Linked DNA regions of Homo sapiens: all the other regions are linked to region 1. Evidence: promoter capture Hi-C in 16 types of primary human blood cells and fetal thymus (Javierre and others, 2016). All regions are on one chromosome and are shown on one strand. Each heading gives the region's core, a stretch centred on a gene start or on the middle of the fragment in contact. The rest is flanking DNA. Distances are from core to core; before and after follow the strand shown.

Region 1 (4,180 bases), core at 514-3,013:
TTGTTTGTTTGTTTGTTTTGGTATGTTTTTGCGACGGAGTTTCGCTCTTGTGGCCCAGGCTGGAGTGCAGTGGCACGATCTCGGCTCACTGCAACCTCTGCCGCCCGGGTTCAAGCGATTCCCCTGCCTCGGCTTCCCAAGTAGCTGGGATTACAGACATGCGCCACCACGCCTGGCTAATTTTGTATATTTAGTAGAGACGGGGGTTTCACTATATTGGTCAGGCTGGTCTCGAACTCCTGACCTCAGGTGATCTACCCACGTCGGCCTCCCAAAGTGCTGGGATTATAGGCATGAGCCACCGCGCCCGGCTGTGCATATGTTTTTAATACACAGTTAATTTACGATAAAATAGCTATTTCACTAGCCTTTCTTTATAATTTACATAAACCATTCTAAAATGAAAACGAAATACATGACTGCAGATGCAGGCTCATTTCAACTTTAGGATTAGAGGTAATTCCGAACCATTACATACACAGCACTGGATCTGCAACACACTTCACCTTAGTTCGCAGTTTAACCACGGGTGTCCAGTGGAAATTACAATCCCGGTGACTACACTGCTTTAAATGTTTCCTAAGGTTTCAACGAGTGCAACAGTAACTTCCTATCCCAGACAGCGTCTTACTGTTATTACTAAAACAGCTGTCAGCTAAGCTTCGCATACCTCTTTGTACAACCGTTTATTCAACGCTTTGGGATCTGTAAGGATGCGTCACTCCACATCACTCCTCAAAACGAGATCTAAGAACCTGACGTGCTCCAGGGGTCTTGAAGCATCACAAGTGGGTACTTGAAAAACGATGACGGGAACTGCCTGTCCAATGCGGCAAGGTTATTTTACACTGGCATTTAAGACAGAACTGTAGAGTGGCTGCTCTTTCCCCGGACACTACTAAAGCAGCAATTTCCCCTTCTTGATTTCATCCACCTCTCCCAGGACCCGGGTACCTCCGACGCTCCCGGCCCGAGCGGCCGCGGCAGACTCCCCGGCGTCGGCGCACGCTCGGCGGCTGGCGGCGGGAACGCGCGGCGGGCCGGGCGCGCCCCCGCCCCCGCGGGTCCGACCGCCGCACGCCAGCGGCGCCCTCTCGGCCGCGCACACTCACACTCGCACGCACACGCTCCTCCGGCCCCGCCATGTTCCGGGAGGCGGCGGCAGCCCAGCCCCGCCAGCCGCGGTGAGGGGCGCCCGCGACGAGGCCAGCTCGCGGCCCTCCGCCCGGCCCCCGCCCCGCCCCGCGCAGCGCCCCCGCCCAGTTGGCGGCTCCCACCTGCGCCGCGGCTCCTCGCGACGCCGGGAGGGGCGGCGGCGGGCGGGGCCCCGGCGGACCCGCGCCGGGGGGCACTAACGGCCTGTCACTGTCAGGCGAGCTACGGCTCGGGCCAGGCTGGGCGGGCGGCGCGTCGGGACCGGGGGGGGCGGGCAGGGCGCGTCCCCTACCTTGCTCTGGGGAGGGGGAACGGGAGCAGCGCAGAACTGAGGGGATCTCCTCCCTGGCGCCGGGGACAAGCTCGAAACCGCGCCCCTCCTTCCTCCTTTCCTGTCGCCACGCCCCCCTCACCCGTACGGACCCGAGGCAAGGCCGGCGCAGGAGGCTTCACCCCCGGAACGAGTGCTTCGGCGTAGCCGTCGCTGTCGTTGTCTTCGTCGCCGCTGCAGCCGCCTGTAAAGCCGCCGGAGCCGGGCTTGAAAACATCTCCGGTCTCGGTCCGTCTCTCACCACAGCCTCCTCGCTCCCAGGACAGCGTCGCCCCGCGATTGGCTGCGACGCGAGCACGTGACACCCGCGGACACGTGACTACCGCGGGCACGGGACGGGCGGCGTGACCGCCCCGCCCCCCGGCGCCCGCCCCTCCTGCTGCTCAGCCAGGCTCCGCGAGCCGCAGGGCGGGGAAGCGGGACGTACCAAGCGGCAGGCGGCGGAGGGGTGCGGGCCGGAACTCCGCCCTTCGTGCTGGTCGGTCTCCACGCCCCACTCGGACTAGTGTCACCGCCTCCCCGCCGCAGACACTATCCGACAAAGGAGGGGGAATCAAAGGCTGGGCGAAGAGGCAGGGCAGGCGCCGGTGACGCTGCTGGGCAAGCGGGCTCTGCAGTAGCATTTGTGGCGACCGTGGCAGTGGCTGTGACTGGAAGCTTCTGGAAATGGCGGCGATGAGGACCCCCACATAGGGTATTCACCTGTTATTTTTACACGGGGTGGGTGGACGAGCGTGATCCAACTCAGGCAAAATGACGCTGCGACCGCAGCCCGAGGACTAGGCGAAGTTCCCCCGCTAAGCCGGCGGCGGCCGTCTGGCCCCGCACCAGGCCGGAGAAGCTGCACCTACGCCCAGAGCCCGCGGCCCCCCGCCTCAGGTGGGGCCCTGGGCCCCGCCCCGAAAGCGCGGTAGCGTGCACCTGCCCTGGCACCAGGGGGTCTAGAGCGCGTCCCCTCCCAGCCACGCCTTCCAGTGGCCTTTTTAAAGAGGAATTCAGTGCACCCTCCCACACGTAGTGTTGGGGATTTGAGAGGGAGCTGCTCAGGTACTAGGAAGGGTGCCGGAGGAAAATTGACCGTCGCAGCGTGGCAGCAGCGTGTACTCACTCCCTTCTGGGCGCGTTATTTACGTAGAGGTTAATCTGCAACAACAGCGTCTGTTTATGACTTAGTGCATGCAGTTACAAGTTTATGTTACACTGTCCTTTAACGTCTTGATGAACTGAGGGTTCAGGTGTGATCACAGCAGATGAAGTGACATTCAGACCTGACAGGGACGGCGAGGTCCCATCAAATTACTATGTAAAGCATAAACCTGCATTAAAGATCAGGAGTTTTTCCTTTCCTGGGTTCCTGATTTCTCCCACCTACAAATCTTTAGGGTCAACAAGACTAGAAAAAGAGCACCTTATGGCTAGAGGTGGAATAGTGTTACATTTAACTTGGTTATTTATGATGTGAAATACAAAGAAAAAAACAGTCGCCTATGAGAAAGTCAGGAGAGCTCCAGGGTAGGACATTTTCATTGTTACTTTTTTGTGCCACTTGGAAAATTAACTGTTGTTTACCTTCTCTCAATTAAAAAAAAAATCTTAAAGACATACTTAAAAATAATCGTTATAGCCGAGCGCAGTGGCTCACGCCTGTAATCCCAGCAATTTGGGAGGCTCAGGCGGGCAGATGGCTTGAGCCCAGGAGTTTGAGACCAGCCAGGCAACATAGTAAGACCCTGTCTCTAAAAAAATATATGAAAATTAACCAGGCTGGTGGCGCCTGCCTGTGCTCCCAGCTGCTCAGGAGGCTGAGGCCAGGGTATTGCAGTGAACCAAGATCACACCACTGCACTCCAGCCTGGGGACACAGCCTGTCTCAAAAAAAAAAAGCATAATTACTAGTGAATAGTCTGTTTCAAGTACAGGTGACTTTGAGAAATCGAGGATTAGATTAATATAAATTATTCATGCATTAAAGCTGGCTAATGCAAAACTAATGTACTACAGCTAATTTCTTAAATACACAAAAGGGTTTATCCTTTTTTCTAAGTTGTAATATCCATACCACTGCAGAGTACATAATCATACTTCCAATCCCTTCACCCAATTATTTTTTGTATACTTGCAGTGTCAGAATAGCTAAGGATAATGTCAAGTGTTTTGGACCTTTCTTTTTTAAAAATGGTAATGCTTAAGCCGGGCGTGGTGGCTCACGCCTGTAATGCTTGCAGTGAGCCGAGATCCCACCACTGCACTCCAGCTTGGGAGACAGCGAGACTCCGTCTCAAAAAAAAAAAAAAAAAAAAAAAGGCTTCTAGAGACAACTACCATATCCTCCTTAAACCTACAGTGTGCTTGAGGTCTTACCAGTTGGAAATACAGTAACAATTATGTGTTTTAAATAATGTTTAAAGGGAGCACTGACAAAGTTTATAGAAAGATCATGTTAACTTAAAACTTGGCTGTGGCTAAAGATGGGAAAGCAAAACATTTGTAATTTAACCAAATTTTTACTTCACAGTAACCTGATCTTGATAAAAGCGATCTGGAAATTGAAAATGGGTGACACTAGAGTAACTGTTAACTAGATTATATAATGATGTCTTCACAGCCATAGATAGAAGACTTTAAAATGGTCCTCTGTCATTATGACATAATACTTAGAGCTGCAAGTTGCTACGGTTAGCATGAGGATGTACA
Region 2 (4,180 bases), core at 952-3,451, 6.2 Mb after region 1:
AATCCCCCCCAGATTCATATTGGCCACCTCTAGGTTACTCTGGGATTCTTTGAGAAAACCATAGGGATTTAGTATAACCTGAGTTCAGCCCTCAGATTTTTTTTGCCCTCAGGGACACCACATGACCTTGAGACCCAATGATTTAAGCCATGGGTCAGAGGTAGTGGAGAAAGTTGGGACCCTGAGTATAGGTAGAACTGGGTTCTAGTGAATAGTAGACACCTCTTATCTCAATCTCAAATTTAAAATGAAATTAATAATGCCTGCTAGCATAACCCACATTCTCTTTTTGAAAATCAAATGAGGTATGTTTGAGGAAGTTCTTGAAAAATATTACATGCTAATCAAATGCAAACCGTAATCATGGGTGTCCTGAAGGAGTTTGGTCCAGGAGCACAGGGGCAAGCTGGAATGTTTACCTACATCCTAGGTAACAGTGTCCTGTTGTCTATTTCCTGAAGCATCTGGTGTCTCTCTTCCCTCCTAGCATACTCCTCATGTCCATGAGCAGAAAGTTAGCTGCAATGGCATGTTCTTTGGTAAAAGCTGTTTTAACCTCTGTCCGTAAGCCTCATGACATGTGGCGCTCCCAGGAGTCTGCTTTGTAACACTGGACCATGGTCCAGCGGGAGGGTTAATAGTAGTGGTGTGAGGAGACTTGGAGGGTAAGTATGGCTTCTTTGGATTCCCTGTAATCATTTCATCTTTAAGTAGTCAAGTCGCATTAAGTAAAAATGATACTCAGATTGCTGAAAGCAGCCCACTTGCAGTAAGAAATCTGGAGGCTTCATGAAGGCTTTTATCATGTTTACTTAGAGCATTTCTGTTACTTAGAGATGCAATTAAGGGCTTAGGTTCTAGGCTCATACTTGAGTTTGAATATTAACTCTGCCACTTAATAGTGTGCTGACCTTGGATATTTCTGAACCCGAGTTTCCACATATAAATGGGAATACCAAATCCATGGGTATCTGTGAAGACTACATGAGATAACATACAGGTTAACATAGCACTTGACACATGAGAGACGTGTAACAAGTTTAGTTGTGTGTTCGTTGGTAGTAGTACTAACAATACTAGTACCGATTAGATATTTGGAGATAAACTTAAGAAACAGATTTTGAAACACTTAAAATAGTGGTTTAGAATGTATCCATTTTGAGGCCAGTCGTGGTGGCTCACACTTGTAATCTCAACATTTCGGGAAGCCAAGGCAGGTGGATTGCTTGAGCCCAGGAGTTCAAGACCAACCTGGGCAACATGGCAAAACCCCGTCTCTACAAAAAAATACAAGAATTAGCTGGGCATGGTAGCACATTCCTGTAGTCCCAGCTTCTCCGGAGGCCAAGGTGGGAGCATCGCTTGAGCCCAGGAGGCTGAGGTTACAGTGAGCAGAGATCGCACCATTGCAGTCCAGCCTGGGCAACACAGTGAAACCCTGTCTCAAAATGAAAATAAAAGTAAATAGAATGTGTCCATTTTGTGCTGATAATTTATGAATTTTTTTTATTGTTTTTAAACTACCTTTTATCTCTGATTACTCTTTTCCTTAACAAAAGTTATTTTTGATTGAACACATCAAATAATTGAAATAATTTTAAGCAGTTTTTGTAGGAGGGGGATTGGTATTTGAACCTATTTACTGATGCTTTTTTTTTTTTTTTTTTGAGATTGGGAGTCTCACTCTGTCACCCAGGCTGGAGTGCAGTGGCACGATCTCAGCTCACTGCAACCTCTGCCTCCCGGGTTCAAGCGATTCTCCTGCCTCAGCCTCCCGAGTAGCTGGGGCTACAGGCATGTGTCACGATACAGGCCAATTTTTTTGTATTTTTAGTAGAGATGGGGTTTCACCATATTGGCCAGGCTGGTCTTGAACTCCTGACCTCAAGTGATCTACCTGCCTCGGCCTCCCAAAGTGCTGGGATTACAGGCGTGAGCCACCGCGCCTGGCCCATTTTATTTATAAATCCATACTCCATATAGTGATTATTCATTTTAGTTTCTTTGATGCTCAGCAAAAGATGCTAAGCTGATCTTCAAACTTTTGGTGAATAACGAAATCTTGAAAGCTACCATTCATTCCAGTGTGTGTCCTTTTATACCTTAAAATATTTGATAAGAAAAATATGATAGTGGGCACTGTCAAATTTTATGCATGAAGGACTAATTTGGCGTATTGAATTTTATATGCGAAGGGCCATTTGGTCTCTAATAAGTATTGTAGTTGCTTATTTTCTACTGCTTTTTTTTTTCTTCACTTTTTTATTTGAGTAATCAATAAGTACTTCTTTTCCTTCGGAGCTCCCAATACTTAATCTAGCCCATGGGAAGGTACCTAGGCCTAAACAGCACACTGTATATTACATACACTGTGTAGCAGTCAGGCCACATCTGAGCCATTGTGTCTAGCTGTCTTTAAATATCGTTTTTAAAGATGGACATAAATAATTGTCATAAGAGTCAGAGTAGACCCAATCAGTTCACATATTTTAAGGAACAAGAATGCTTAGCCTAGAATAGAAGAGACTCTGATAAATTCTTTGGTGTGTTGTGGTTTCATTTGGAAGAGCGTGGTAATATTCAGTGTGATTTCTAGTGGACATAATAGTTCTCTGACATTTTTATGGACTTCTTGGTAAAGTAGTGAGTCTCTGTCAACTGTAACGATCCCAAAACTGAAATGCAGCATAGCATGCGATGTTTAAGAAGAGACTTGTCTTAGTCAGCTTGGGGTACTGCAGCAGAATACCATAGATGGTATTTGGCTTAAACAACAGACATTTATTTCTTACCATTCTCACAGATCAAAGTGCCAGCCGATTGGGCTCTCTTCCTGGTTTGCAGACTTCTTGCTGTATTCTCACGAGGAAAGGAAAGAGAGCGTGGTCTGGGTCTCTTTCTCCTCTTAGAAGGACACTAATCCATCACATGGAGGCTCCACCCATGTGACCTCATCTAAACCTAATTACTTCCCAAAGGCCCTGTCTCCAAATACCATCACATTGGGCGTCAGGGCTTCAATATATGAATTTGGTGGTGGTGGGGGACAGAGGGAGGTCATAGATATTACTTAACTTTTCTAACCCTCATTTCTTTTTTTTTTTTTTTTTTTTTTTGAGACGGAGTCTTGCTCTGTCACCCAGGCTTGAGTGCAGTGGTGTGATCTCGGCTCACTGCACCCTCCGCTTCCCAGGTTCAAGTGATTCTCCTGCCTCAGCCTCCCAAGTAGCTGGGACTACAGGCGCACGCCATCACGCCCGGCTAATTTTTTGTATTTTTAGTAAAGACGGGCCTTCACCGTGTTGGCCAGGCTGGTCTTGAACTCCTGACTTCAAGTGATCTGCTTGCCTCAGCCTCTCAGAGTGCTGGGATTACAGGCGTGAGCCACTACACCCAGCCTTAATTGTCTTTAAAAATAGAAATAATACCACCTCTAAAGTAGTTCTGAGATAATAATGTATAAGTTTAAGAATTTGGGATGTTACGAGCTTTCAAAAAAAGAGTTGTTTCCAGTGTGATTATTGTTAGAGTATTTCAGAGATGTGTTAGAAGCATTTTTGGTATTTGTTAAAAGAATGGGCTGGATGTATTCTTCTTGTTCCAAGAATCAGCAAGTGCACTTTAATATTTTTATTTATGCCCGTAAGCCTCAAGATAGGGATGCTGCTCTGTGACCATTTTTCATTTCCACATTTTGCTTTTTGTGTGGGCATCTCCAAATGAGCCTGCCTTTCTGGTTAAATATTCTGTCTTTGCTTTTGCTCTTTTTTCTCTGTGACTTCTTGTTTGTTTCTTTCTGCATGGCTCTCCTTTGGTCTCTGTCACTCTCCATTATTTATTTTGTCCTCCCACATTTTCCCTCATCATTCATGATAAAATAGGAGGAATAGTTTATAGTGTGTTATTTTGCTATATTTTTTAAACATTTGGGTTACATCATTGTGTATCTTTTCTGCTGCTGGTTCAGAGTGTGGCTTTCCCAGGTGTTGACCAGGACAGGTCTGACTTGGTTCTTATTGTGTAGCTATGCTGGGCTAGCATGTAGGAATAAGGTATATGGCACTAGATTCTGCTTCAAGAGCAGGCTGTTTAACATATCCCTCATGCCTATGACGAACAACTGCATTTCCTCCAGACGTAACTAACGGTGAGGAAGCCTCTTTCCCCAGCTCTGTTGGGG
Region 3 (4,180 bases), core at 795-3,294, 5.9 Mb after region 1:
GGCTTTTCTCTACGGTCTACCTATGGTTCCAGTCTCTTCCCCAAGAGATCCCTAAGGAAACTTAGTAGCTACCCACTGCTCCATACCTGGAAGAAGCAGTAGCAACCAGGGACAACTGGGTGCTAAAGATGTGCCAGGCACTGATTTAAGCATTTTGTATGTGTTAACACATTTAATCCTCACGACAACTCATCATATAGGTATTGTTATCATCCTCTTCTCTCAGATACGAAAATCAGGGTAAAGAGAATAAACAACTTGCCACACAGCTAGAAAATGGCAGAGCTCAGTCAGGATCTGTACTCAGGAAATCTAGCTCCAGAGCTTGAACCACTAGCCAGTAACATCCTGCATACAGGCAGCTGAAATTCTCTACCATGAAAATGTGGATACCTGGGCATAACAAGCAATGACACCCCAAAGCTAATGTGTAGAATGAGGAAGGAAGATCACAAAGATGCTGGCAAAAAGGGTATGATAAACTCATCCCCAGATATACCTGGAGCCTTTGAATCTTGGGAGAAAGGGAAAACTAGCCCCATGTCGGGGCTCTAAATCCTGTTCTTTCCTAACCCTAGCAACTCTTGTCTGGACATCTGTCCTTCAGAAATTGCAGTTCATCTTGTTCAAGCTTAGTTTCATCAAAGCATAAACGAACATCGAGTCAGCCATCATAAAAGCTGTTTCACTCAAAAGAGCCTAAAGCACTCAAAAGTGCTCTTAGTTATAAAGTCCAGGAGGGTCCACCACCTTCGACAAATTACCTCACCTCTCTGGGTTTCACTTTCCTCAGTTATAAAACGCAAAGCCTTCACAAGGTAATCTATCAGGTCCTACTGAATTCTAAATGCTTTGATTCTTCTCTTACCAAAAGACCATTCCAAATCTACCTTAAACTAAAGCGGCCAAACGAATCCTCTAAACATCCCTTTCTTATTACTCCGTTAGTGAAGACTCCAAAATTACTCTCTATGGCTTCTTAGATAATCTTTTCTTTCTCCTAAGTTTTCAAGACATCCATAAGAAGGTCCTACTTACCTATCTACCCTTATTTCCGACTATTAGTCATTACAGTTCTGTTCCATACCCGCCGGTGTCCCCACGGCCTGCTTTTCACAGGACACAATTCCCAGCTTTTGAGTTTTGCTCGTTACCACCTCCCACACATCTAGCCGGAAACGCTAAGTTCTCCCTCTTAAGGTTGAATCCAAGGCCTTCAGTGAGGTCACGACTCTTTTCCAAGTAACCTTTCCCTATTTCTGTTAATGGTCCTTTCTTCAATCAACACGAATAAACTAAACCTTTACAAGATGCAAGACACACTGAGCGAATTACAACTCTATGTAAATCATCACATTTGAGCCCGTATCAACCACACACTCGGTTACCGGCATGCTAATGGCTTCCTTGGAGGCTTCACCTTAGGCAAGACCGTGCAACAGGAGGCTCCTCCACCCTCCAAAGCATCTAGGATAGTGTTGGGCACAGGGCAGGTGCTCCACACGAACACGCCCGGGTCGGCCCCAATCCACCGCCAGGACCCGCCGCGGCGCCGGGAGGGCAGGCGTTGGCCGCCGGGCAGCCGGGCCGTCCAAGGCCCAGGTGTCTGAGGTCACCCAGGTGGCGCAGGGCCGGCCCACGCACGGCCGGGACCCGGCCACTTCTCCAGCAGGGCGTCTCCCCATACCGGCTCCATCGCCTGCAGCCTCCCGGCCCCTGGACGTCCGGGCCAGGGCCTCGCCACCAACCCTCCTCCCGCCGCCAACCCTCCTCCCTCCACCTCCGGCCCCGCGCCCCCTTCTCAGCCAGTCTGACAGGTCCTGCCGCCGCCTGGCCGCCCTGGGGCGGGGTCCGGCCGCAGGCGCGCGACGGGAGGGGGCGCGGGGGTACGGAGACGGCGGCCCGAGGGGTCTCGCGAGCAGAGTCGAGCGCGACTCACCCGACGCCAAACACCAGAACCGGGGCCGCCCTGCGCGAGACCACAAACGACAGCGAAGAGCGTTAGGCTGTGGCCGGACAGTGGCGGCGCCGACACTTCCTGCCTGAAGGGGCGGAGCGGAAGGCGCACCGGAAGGCGCACCGGAAGGCGCACCGGAAGGCGCGGCGGGACCAAGTGGAACGGGGGTGCGCTGAGTGTTCGCGCCCGGGCCGGCGGGGTCTGCGTGTCCGCCGAGCGGCGGGGCTGCTGAGGCCGGACGCACACGGCCGGGGTCTTAATTGCCCCTCCGGCCTGCTCCGATCCGCTGCGATATCGCGGCCTGCGCTGCGGCGGTCGTCCGCAGCCCGGCCCTCGTCCCCCGCTCCTTTGGTAGCTCCGCCACCCTTCCGCATTCCTGGGCCCGCTGGGCGCGGCTGGGCAGGCCGCTGGAATTTGACCCGAGTGGGCCGCGATCGGCCGAGGATTTGGGGTCCCCTTTGACCCAGGCGGGGCGCGATCCGCCTAGGATTTGGGGTCCCCTGGCGCCGAACCCTGAGTTGCCAGATGTAGCAAGTAAAAGTACAGTTCTTCTAAATTTGAATTTCAGACAAGACAGGTTTTAGGGTTCGTCTCATGTAATGTTGAGAAGGTGAGGGCGGCGCCTGGGCGGATTCTTCTCCGTTCCAGAATCCCTTTCTCTTTTCAAACCGCATTACAGCCCGAGTTAAATTCTTTAACCTACTCCTCTCTGCTTACCCTCATAAGGTTTACGGCCGTATCAGGCTACGGCCGCAGCCTACGGCTGTTTGATTCCCCTTTTGGCCACAAGAAAGTTTTATTCGAACTACTTGCTTTCCTTTATCAAGAAAATGGCAACGCACACACATACATGCACACACAAATAAAAACACAAAGCTACGTTTTTCAGGTTTTGTTCTAGATCGTGTTTGTGGCTGTGTTCTTCAGGATATTTTCCCTCACCTTGAGGTAATCTAGCATTACTTCATCTAGCATTACTAAAATAGCATTACTTCAGGATGGTGGAGGATCGGCAATCTAATAGCAAATCTTTATTGAACTCTTCTTACTGCCTTAACATGTGCCGGATGCTGAGAGATGAATTCAAAGCCTCTTAGGGAGTTTATATTCTAGAAATCTTTGATCAGAAATTCCTAGAAGAGAGGGACCTTGTGTTCAGCACTCTGTAGCAGTTCTTAAACAGTAGCACGCATAATAACAGGGCTTTTAAAAACATTTTTGAGCCTCAAAACCGGGTATCAGGATTCAGTGAGTAAGGGGTGGAGGATAATTCGAATTTCTGGTAAGCACACATGATGCTGATGGGGTGGTCGCCATCCCAGCAGCACAGCTCTAAACGCGGTTCATAACTGTGTGTATTTTCTCAATAGTGTTAGAAAAGCAATTGCTGAAAAGTCACACCTGGTTCTACAATATTTACTCTTAGGTTTTGGTTCGATAGTCTAAATTAAAAAAAAAAAAGTTTCTAGAATTGTGCTGTCCAATACAATCGTCACTAACCACATGCAGCTAAACTTAAATTTAGTTCCTCAGTTGTATTTGATACGTTTTATTTTTAGAGATGGGGTCACCCTATGTTGCCTAACCTGGAATGCACTGGCTATTCACAGGCGTGATCATAATGCACTACAACCTGGAACTCCTGGCCTCAAGCGATCCTCTCACTTGAGCCTCCCAAGTAGTTGGGACTACAGGTGAGAGACACCGCACCAGTGCGTCTGGCAGTATTAGACACTTTTTTTTTTCTTGAGACGGAGTCTTGCTCCGTCGCCCAGGCTGGAGTGCAGTGGTTTGATCTCGGCTCACTGCAACCTCTGCCTCCCGGGTTCATGTGATTCTTCTGCCTTAGCCTCCCGAGTAGCAGGGACTACAGGCCTGTGCCACGACGCCCAGCTAATTTTTGTATTTTTAGTAGAGACGGGGTTTCACCATGTTGGCCAGGATGGTCTCAATCTCTTGTCCTCATGATCCGCCCACCTGGGCCTCCAAAAGTGCTGGGATTACAGGCGTGAGCCACCGCGCCTGGCTAGTATTAGACACATTTTAAGTGCTCAATAGCCACATGTGGTTAGTGTCCTTATTGTATGGCACAGAGAGCATTTCCTTAATTACAGAAGCTTCTATTTGACAGCACTATTCTGAAGAAATAATTCTAAGGTATATTGTTCTCTCTAGATGCAAAAGAAAAGCCTATAATAGGCTTTGTTTAATCATGAATAAAAA

The links. The method cuts DNA at HindIII sites, captures the fragments that hold promoters and counts their contacts. A CHiCAGO score of 5 or more calls a contact.
Region 2: a contact is called between a fragment that was not itself captured here and the fragment with the promoter of ANKRD12 in region 1, in 1 of 17 cell types (total CD4 T cells). The highest score is 5.4, in total CD4 T cells.
Region 3: a contact is called between the fragment with the promoter of MYL12B here and the fragment with the promoter of ANKRD12 in region 1, in 2 of 17 cell types (total CD4 T cells and non-activated CD4 T cells). The highest score is 6.5, in total CD4 T cells.

The regions. Positions count from the first base shown.
Region 1 is chr18:9,134,364-9,138,543 of GRCh38, reverse strand. It overlaps ANKRD12 (ankyrin repeat domain 12), which reads right to left and starts at 1,763. Exons shown (of 13, transcript NM_015208.5): 1 at 1,579-1,763. NDUFV2-AS1 (NDUFV2 antisense RNA 1) reads left to right here and starts at 1,824. Exons shown (of 3, transcript NR_110772.1): 1 at 1,824-2,180. RefSeq lists silencers at 996-1,045, 1,086-1,485, 1,696-2,045, 2,396-2,485, 2,488-2,661 and enhancers at 1,616-1,665, 2,156-2,205. The HindIII fragment of the contact is 1,483 bases long and covers 663-2,145 here.
Region 2 is chr18:2,963,219-2,967,398 of GRCh38, reverse strand. All of the region lies in intron 1 of LPIN2 (lipin 2), which reads left to right. LPIN2-AS2 (LPIN2 antisense RNA 2) reads right to left here and starts at 399. Exons shown (of 3, transcript XR_001753322.2): 1 at 357-399. The HindIII fragment of the contact is 4,542 bases long and covers 1-4,180 here.
Region 3 is chr18:3,259,997-3,264,176 of GRCh38, reverse strand. MYL12B (myosin light chain 12B) reads right to left here and starts at 2,044. Exons shown (of 4, transcript NM_033546.4): 1 at 1,940-2,044. It overlaps MYL12-AS1 (MYL12A and MYL12B antisense RNA 1), which reads left to right and starts at 1,818. Exons shown (of 4, transcript NR_130145.1): 1 at 1,818-2,124; 2 at 2,847-2,905. RefSeq lists a silencer at 1,499-2,388 and an enhancer at 2,599-2,648. The HindIII fragment of the contact is 3,443 bases long and covers 634-4,076 here.